Regions from separate parts of the Homo sapiens genome. Here all the other regions are linked to region 1. Evidence: promoter capture Hi-C in human tissues and cell types (Jung and others, 2019). All regions are on one chromosome and are shown on one strand. Each heading gives the region's core, a stretch centred on a gene start or on the middle of the fragment in contact. The rest is flanking DNA. Distances are from core to core; before and after follow the strand shown. Region 1 holds the start of SOX10 (SRY-box transcription factor 10). Region 2 overlaps TPTEP2-CSNK1E (TPTEP2-CSNK1E readthrough). Region 3 overlaps TMEM184B (transmembrane protein 184B).

Evidence for each region. The method cuts DNA at HindIII sites, captures the fragments that hold promoters and counts their contacts. A contact is called where the count stands out against the background at its distance.
Region 2: a fragment that was not itself captured here is called in contact with the fragment with the promoter of SOX10 in region 1 in 5 of the 25 tissues and cell types used here (aorta, dorsolateral prefrontal cortex, liver and 2 more).
Region 3: a fragment that was not itself captured here is called in contact with the fragment with the promoter of SOX10 in region 1 in 5 of the 25 tissues and cell types used here (dorsolateral prefrontal cortex, hippocampus, lymphoblastoid cells and 2 more).

What each region holds. Positions count from the first base shown.
Region 1 is chr22:37,983,227-37,985,925 of GRCh38, reverse strand. It overlaps SOX10 (SRY-box transcription factor 10), which reads left to right and starts at 1,371. Exons shown (of 4, transcript NM_006941.4): 1 at 1,371-1,587; 2 at 2,058-2,569. The coding sequence starts at 2,142. It also overlaps a transcript of POLR2F not described here. RefSeq lists enhancers at 1-310, 2,265-2,699. The HindIII fragment of the contact is 28,697 bases long and covers 1-2,699 here.
Region 2 is chr22:38,302,035-38,304,733 of GRCh38, reverse strand. TPTEP2-CSNK1E (TPTEP2-CSNK1E readthrough) reads left to right here. Exons shown (of 15, transcript NM_001289912.2): 7 at 1,486-1,596; 8 at 1,725-1,873. It overlaps CSNK1E (casein kinase 1 epsilon), which reads left to right. Exons shown (of 11, transcript NM_152221.3): 3 at 1,486-1,596; 4 at 1,725-1,873. Among named protein-coding and RNA genes, the nearest start is that of CSNK1E, 14 kb to the left of the region's middle. The HindIII fragment of the contact is 4,513 bases long and covers 1-2,699 here.
Region 3 is chr22:38,263,395-38,266,093 of GRCh38, reverse strand. All of the region lies in intron 1 of TMEM184B (transmembrane protein 184B), which reads left to right. Among named protein-coding and RNA genes, the nearest start is that of TMEM184B, 8.3 kb to the left of the region's middle. RefSeq lists an enhancer at 1,708-2,208. The HindIII fragment of the contact is 7,395 bases long and covers 1-2,699 here.

The DNA of each region.
Region 1 (2,699 bases), core at 122-2,621:
ACTCCTAATTCACTGGGCTCCGAGGCCCCAGACACACTGGCCCGATTGTCTGGCTGGTTGTGTGTGTGAGCATGTGTGTGTGTGTGTGTGTGTGTGTGTGTGTGTGTTCCAGTGTCTGCTCCCCCCACCCCCAACATGCCTCTGCCTCGTGTGACTACCTCATTGTGTCCCATTTCCCACCCCCTACACCCCTTTGGACTTTCCCAAGCATGAGGCCTTGCCTCCCCAGACCCTTTGCAGCCCACTCCAGACAGGACCCCTTGGGGTGGTCTTGGGGCTTTGCCCTGCTGTTGAGGAGCTCAGAACGTCACATGGTTGCCAATGCGACCCCAGCTCCATTACATAACCCACATACACCCCACCTCGGCCTCAACACCCCGGCGGGGCTGCCCTCAGTTAAGAGAACAGCACTGCGACCTTTGGAGGAGAGGCCAAGGAAAGAGAGAGAAAAAGGTGTCAACGGAGGATGGGCAGGAAAGAAAAGGGGAGGGAGGGAGAGGTGGGCAGAGGAGGGAAGAGGCAGGGCAAGTCCCCACCCCTTGTTGGGGTGGGGGAGTAGAGGACTTCGTGACAATCAGGACTAGGACTCCCCTACCCTCTCCCAAGACAGGGTGAGCCCAGTGTGGAAGGAGCTGGGTCCCAGTAGGTAGCAACCCAAAATGCCTCTAAGACCTACTGAGAGAGGGCCCCCAACCTGTCCCACCTTGGCCTCCTGGCAGCTTTAGTCTTGTGTTTCCACCTTGAACCAGACCAGAACGCGCGTGTGCTGGGTGTCTGCAGAGAAGGGACCAGGGGTCAAGCTGGGGCTCTGCACTTCTCAGAGGGATCCCTGAGAAGTCTCTCTTACTGTGCAGGATGGGGCAGAAAGGGCTGCCTGGGAAAAGGTAGGAGGCAGGGTGAGGAGCTGGGCATCAGTGCCTGGCACACACTAGGCACTCAACAGGATTTCGCAGACGAAGCAGCTAGGGCCAGCCACCCTCACGGGCCCCCAGGACCCTCACCGCCTTCACGTCTCTCCCTAGTCCCCTGCCAAGTGCCCATCCTGCCACCTGAGGCAGACGTTAGGAGTCCTGGTTGGGCCCAATTTTCTTCCATCCAACAGGTTCTGACCCTCCAGCCTACATCTCTTCCTTCCTCGGCCTAACCTCCCCTCCACCTCCCAGACTAAGCCCAAGATAAGCCTCAGCAAGATGGGCCTGGGCAGTAGGGCAGGGAGCTGGGTGGGGGGGCCTGGGCTCCGGGTGGAGGAGCCCTGAGTGTTGGGGATGAAGGAAAGCCTGGAGGCTCCACCTTCTGCCCTTCCCTCCCTCCTCTCCCCTCCCCCCTCTCCCCCTCCTTCCTTCCCCAGCCCTCCGCAGCGGCTCAGGCTCAGTCGCTCAGTCAGTCTCGGGCTGTCCGGCCAGGGTGGTTGGTGGTAAGGATTCAGGCTCCGTCCTAACGAGGCCGTGGCCTGAGGCTCAGGGCCCCCCGCCCCTCCCTCCCAGCCCACCAGCGTCACCTCCCAGCCCCGAGCTGGACCGCACACCTTGGGACACGGTTTTCCACTTCCTAAGGACGAGCCCCAGACTGGAGGAGAGGTCCGAGGAGGTGAGTGCGCAGCCTGCTCCTCCCTGGCCCGCCCAGGCCTGGGACCCTGCTGTGAGGTGGAGAGAGGCGACACCCCGCCCTTGCCCCCCACCTGGCTCTCCTCTAAACCCCGTTGGGGCAGGCTGAGGGAAGAAGGAAAGGTGAGAGAAAAGGTGGGAAATTCCAGGGGCCGGGATTAGAGCAAAATAAAGGCTCCGTTTTTTTCTTCCTTATCATCAACAAACCTCCACCCAAAAAAGGAGGCTAAAAAAAAAGCCACCCACACCAAGAGACGGTTGGGACCAGGTGGTGGGAAGACACAGAGGCGGGACGCACCCACCTAGAGTCTGGCATGTGCGTGGGCCCCAGGGGCCAGATGGGTTTAGCTGGAGCAGGAAGGGCCGCCACCTCGGGGCTGTGCCCACGTCCTGTCTCGGGCCGCCCTCGGGGCTGCGCGCGCGGCCGCTCCATCGCGCCCTCCTTCCATCCAGGTGGGCGTTGGACTCTTTGCGAGGACCCCGGCGGCTGGCCCGGGGGAGGCGGCCGAGGCGGCGGCGGCGGCGGCCGGGGGCGACATGGCGGAGGAGCAGGACCTATCGGAGGTGGAGCTGAGCCCCGTGGGCTCGGAGGAGCCCCGCTGCCTGTCCCCGGGGAGCGCGCCCTCGCTAGGGCCCGACGGCGGCGGCGGCGGATCGGGCCTGCGAGCCAGCCCGGGGCCAGGCGAGCTGGGCAAGGTCAAGAAGGAGCAGCAGGACGGCGAGGCGGACGATGACAAGTTCCCCGTGTGCATCCGCGAGGCCGTCAGCCAGGTGCTCAGCGGCTACGACTGGACGCTGGTGCCCATGCCCGTGCGCGTCAACGGCGCCAGCAAAAGCAAGCCGCACGTCAAGCGGCCCATGAACGCCTTCATGGTGTGGGCTCAGGCAGCGCGCAGGAAGCTCGCGGACCAGTACCCGCACCTGCACAACGCTGAGCTCAGCAAGACGCTGGGCAAGCTCTGGAGGTGAGCACCCGACCGCCCCCCGGGCTCGGGCCCTCTAGCTTCGGGTGGATTCAGGGTAGCCGAGGCGGCCCGGCCTCCTGCACCTCAGAGCGGGACTGTCTGGCAGTCCTCCTTGGATAGGGCTGGAAGA
Region 2 (2,699 bases), core at 54-2,553, 320 kb before region 1:
ATCCTTGCATCTGTGACAGATGTTTGTTGTTTCCACCCTCTGGCTGCTGTGAGGAGTGCACCCCTGGGACCAGGGTCATTGTGTGAAGCAGGCATCCTTTCCTCTTCACTGCCGCCTGGGATTCCCTGGTGACTGCGCCACTGTTCCTGTTCTTCTGCTGCTGAGCACTTGGGCTGTTTGCTCCTGTGTCCATCCTTGTCCTGTCCCCCTGGTGCACACGTGTTTCTGAAGGATGTACACTCAGGAGTGGGGTTGCTTGGGCGAGCGTTTGTTTATGTTCAGCTTCACCCAAGAGGTGCACAGGGGCTGTGCCAACTCACACCCACACCTTTATTTCTTATATACAAACTTTTCCTCTACTTGAGATTTCTCCTGGTTGTGGTGTGAGCCATGGTGTCTTTTCTCAGGTGGCCAGCCGGTTGTTCAGGGACATTATTAATGAACAGTCTCATCTTTTCCTCTGATGTGAGGTCCTGCCTTTCTCCTGTCTTGAACTCCTCCTGAGGCTGTGTCCCTGGGGGTTGTTCTGGCCTGTTTGTGTCCTGTTGCGACACTGTCCTACTCCTCCTGCTGGGCTCGCTGCTGGCCCCAGGAAGGAGACACCCTGTCGCCCAGCCTAGCCCCAGCCCTTCATCTCATCCACCCATACAGCCAGGGAAACTGAGGCAAGGTACACTTTGGGCTTGGTCTTTCTTGTGACTTCTTGAGTTGGGCAGTGGGCCCAGGCAGAGAGCGGGGCCTTGGTGTGTGTGAGGGTATTTTCTTAGAGCCCCTTGAGAAGCCAGGAGTGGACTGGGGGAGACGGGGAGGTGCAGGCAGGACCTCTGACCTATGCTGGAGGCCAGCAGAGCCGGGGTTGATCTCAAGGCCGCCATTTACAGGTCAGGTGACCTTGAGCTGGGTCTCTAGCTGGGTCTCTGTTTTCTCATCTCTACAAGGGGGTTGAGAATCGAATGAGACACTGGATTAGAATGTGCAGGGCTGCCTCTGAAGGCATCAGCATTGACTGAGGGGTTGCTGCGGCTGTCCCATCCTCATCCTGTAGGCCAGGGTGGTCCTGGCTTGTTCTGGTGTGTTCGGCAGCCCAGCCCCATTGGGCCTCTTCTGCACGTGCCACCATCTCAACCCGACAGACCTCACTGCCTGAATTTGCTCTAGGACTCAGCCCCCTCCCTTAGGTGGTCTGTGAGCCTTTTGCATACCTGACCCTTGCCCCACTCACATCGGGCCTTCTTGTCGCCCCAACCTGTGGCCCTGGGTAGCCCTTGTGTGTCACCTCTGTCCCTCACAGCGCTGACCTTCTTTCCCCTCAGGAACCCTTTGCCGGGGCTCCTTTGCCCCCTTCCCAGCCTCCCCCAAGAGCTCCTCAAGGGCAGATGGCCCCGGGCCCGGCACACGCCAGATCTCAGAAATGCTTAGTGGGGCGCCTGGGACTGCCTGGCCTTTGAGGGTGACCCTGGTCCCTTGCCTCCCTGCCCCGGGCAGGTGCCAACATCGCCTCTGGTGAGGAAGTCGCCATCAAGCTGGAGTGTGTGAAGACAAAGCACCCCCAGCTGCACATCGAGAGCAAGTTCTACAAGATGATGCAGGGTGGCGGTGAGCGCAGGGTGGGCGGCGGCGGGCGCCGGGTGGGTGGCGGTGGGCAGCCATGAGCACAGGGTGGGCCGGGCGTGGCTGGCTGCCTGCCTCTGACCCCTGACAGAGGCCCTCTGCTTGACCCCCAGTGGGGATCCCGTCCATCAAGTGGTGCGGAGCTGAGGGCGACTACAACGTGATGGTCATGGAGCTGCTGGGGCCTAGCCTCGAGGACCTGTTCAACTTCTGTTCCCGCAAATTCAGCCTCAAGACGGTGCTGCTCTTGGCCGACCAGATGGTGAGTCCCCGTCCCCTCCATCCCCAGCCAGATGCCTGTGGGCCCAGGATACCAGCCCTGCCTCCTGCCCCCAGAGGATGCCAGAGGATGGGCCTGGGCCAGGGGACCTTGTCCACTGGCTATAGAATTGTAGGTGTTTATTTATTTTTTGAGGCGGAGTCTCACTCTGTCGCCCAGGCTGGAGCGCAGTGGTGCGATCTCAGCTCGTTGCAACATCCGCCTCCCAGGTTCACGCGATTCTCCTGCCTCAGCCTCATGAGTAGCTGGGATTACAGGCACCTGCCACCACGCTGGGCTAATTTTTGTATTTTTAGTAGAGACAGAGTTTTACCAAGTGATCCGCCCATCTTAGCCTCTCAAAGTGCTGGGATTACAGGCGTGAGCCACCGTGCCCAGCCAAGTTGTTTATTTAAAATGTGATTTCAGGCCCAACTCCAGACCTGCCGAGTCAGGGCCTGGGACTCTGCCTGGGGTAGTTTTATTTATTTATTTCAAAAATATCATTTAATTGTAAGAAATAGAGATGGGGGTCTCACTGTGTTGACCAGGCTGGTCTCAAACTCCTGGCCTTGAGCAGTCTTCCCATCTTGGCCTCCCAAGATGGGAATTAACACGGGATCACAGGCATGATCCACCACGTCTGGCCTGCCCTGGGTAATGTAAAGCCTGCGGTCGGTCACACAGACCTGGTCCTGTTCCAGACCAGTGACCGTAGGTGAACGCCGAACCTCTCTGAGCCTCAGTGGCCTCATGTGAGAGTCTCTCCTTTGTTGGTTGTTGAGGGGATTAGGTGAGATACCATTCAGCGCCTTGCCAAAACAGGCCC
Region 3 (2,699 bases), core at 145-2,644, 280 kb before region 1:
AGTTACTGCCTCTGTTACCCTCAAAGGGATTTTCAGATCAGACAGCCCCCCTACTCCAAGGGACGTGTGTGGAGCTTGGTACCTTTATTTATCTCCTGCTCCAACCCCTGTGGACTGCCTGCACCCAGAATGGGGCCTCTCCTGCTGGCAAGTGGCTGAGAACCTCCACTCCACTCAGCAGGGCTGTTCCCCATTTACCGAAAAGCTCCGAGAGAAAATAACTAACCCCATGGCGCCGCTGTAGCTACTGGCAGAGCCTCCTGGTCCCCACCTCTAGCGCCTGTGGTTTTTGTTTCATGCAGAGTGAGCAGTGAATCTGGGATCCCATCAGCAGTCAGTTTGGGTGCCTGCGAGGCACAATGATAGATGTTGGTGAAGGGTATGTGTGAGGATATTAATTAATATTAACATGCTAGTTATATTAATATTCTCATTGGAATTTGTGGGGCTTTGCAAGTTATATTTCAAATATATGGTTTTATGTAATCCTTTTAACTGCCCTGAAACCTTGAAATTATTGCACCTATTTTATAGATGGAGAGACTGAGGCTCAGAGGGGTGAATTGCCTAAGATCCTGGGGGAGGAAGCACCCAGGTTTTCTGGTTTTGAGTCCTGGGCCCTTCCTGCTGAGTAGCTACCCCCAACACAGACCTGCCCTTGGAGAGCTTGCAGCCACACTGGGAAGGCCAGTGTATTGGATTGCTGCTTAGACCTGGAAAGCACGTGAATAAAGCTTCAGGTTAAAACCATGGGGGTTCCAGGAGGCAGCAGTCGGCTCTGCCTGGGGGTGAGCTGAGGAGCCGGTGCTCTCTGGAACAAGGGTAGTTGGGCTGAGGCTCAGTGGACAGTGGAGGTTGGCAGGTGAAGTGCAGGAGGTCTTTGCAGGGAGTGGGACCACCTTGAGCACACACAGAGGAATGAGACAGGCAGGTTACTCAAGGAGCAGAGGTCTCGTGACCACTTCCCAGAGCATGTGGGGTCCTAGCCTCATCTCCAGGAGGAGAAAGTGCATCTATACACAGATTTGTCAATGGAGTTTAAATAGGATGTGGGAAAATCTAGATTTTCCAAAACAGTACATATTTGCTTTGAGAAGAAAGGTAGATGCAGGATGCATAGGTTAGATAATTTTAATAGCAGTAACCTCAGAGCATGTAAGTATGATTTGATTTACTGGAGTGCCTGGCCGTCTCAGTCAGTGGGAGCACGGCTTGGGCTGGGAGATGAGGTTGACAAGGGTTCTTTCTCTCAAATGCTTCCTTTGGTTTGCTAAGAGGTATCTCCTACTCGGCCGGGGGCAGAAGACTTTTCCTTCTTTTCCCAGTTTGCAGTAGTTGGGCCAGATTTGTGGAAGTGGGAGAAAGGCCTGCCCTGCTTCTACATAGAGTTGGCTGTCCTGACTTGATACTCGGTGTGCCTTCCAGAGACCCGCCTCCATCTCCTCAACTCCCTGGCTTGATGCTTAGGTGGTGATGGCTGTTGGGCACAGGAGTTACATAACAGATCTGTGATGGACCCAGGAGCAGAGCCAGCTGAGTGAATGTCATGGAGTGGGAGTGGTCTTGCATGGCTGTGGTGTCCCCTGCAGCTTGTGCAGGGTATGTGGCAAGAGGTGCTCACCACTCATCTGGAATGGCTAGACTGGAAGCACTTGGCCCTCTTGGGCTCTGCACCCCCACCCCCTCCCACCTGGCCTGCCTGCTCATCTTCATGGGCGCCTGGGGAGACCAATTATGGCTGCTTGTCATAGTGGCTCAGGTCACCGTTCACACTTCCTGGGACCAGGACATCAGAGCCCTGAGAAGGGTCAAGGGGCCAAGTGGGCCTAGCCTTTTACTGACAGCTGGGAAATGCAAGCGTGTGGACCAGAGCACCAAGTGAGTTGGGGCCGGTGTGGGTTCAGCACCGTGTCCCTACCCAGAGCTCCATTTGTTGAAAACAGCCTTTCTCTACCGTTTCTTCACTTGGACAACTTTAAACTATGTATTGGCTGGTCGCGGTGGCTCACGCCTGTAATCCCAGCACTTTGGGAGGCCGAGGTGGGCAGGTAACTTGAGGTCAGGAGGTCGAGACCAGCCTGGCCAACATGGTGAAACCTCATCTCTACTAAAAATACAAAAATTAGCCCAGCGTGGTGACACGCACCTGTAATCCCAGCTACTCGGGAGGCTGAGGCAGAAGAATCGCTTGAACTTGGGAGGCAAAGATTGCAGTGAGCTGAGATTGCATCACCGCACTTCAGCCTGGGAGACAGAGCGAGACTGCATCTCAAAAAACAAACAGAAACCTACATATTTTCTATATTTCCCCCAACATTGAGGCTCATTTCTTGGATGAACAATTTAAATGTACTGTGCCTCTCTGGCAATATTTTCCAAAATTACAGATGTTTCTATACTTTCACCGGCAGCTCTGCCTCCCAGAATTTATTCTACGGATGGGTTAACACGTGTGCAAAATGATTTATTTGCAAGGTTCGTCATTGTTGCCTTATTTTTAATAGCAAAAGATTGGAGGCAGCTTAAATGTTCATTCGCAGGGGCCAATGAACAAACCATGGCCCGTCTAAACATGGGATACCGCGTGGCCATAATACATAAGATGGACGCTCAACGCACTGTGCCGGATTGAGCAGCAAGGTGGATTGCCGAGGGAAGAAGCAGGTCTGGGCGGTGTGTCTCGGAGCTGCCATCAGTGT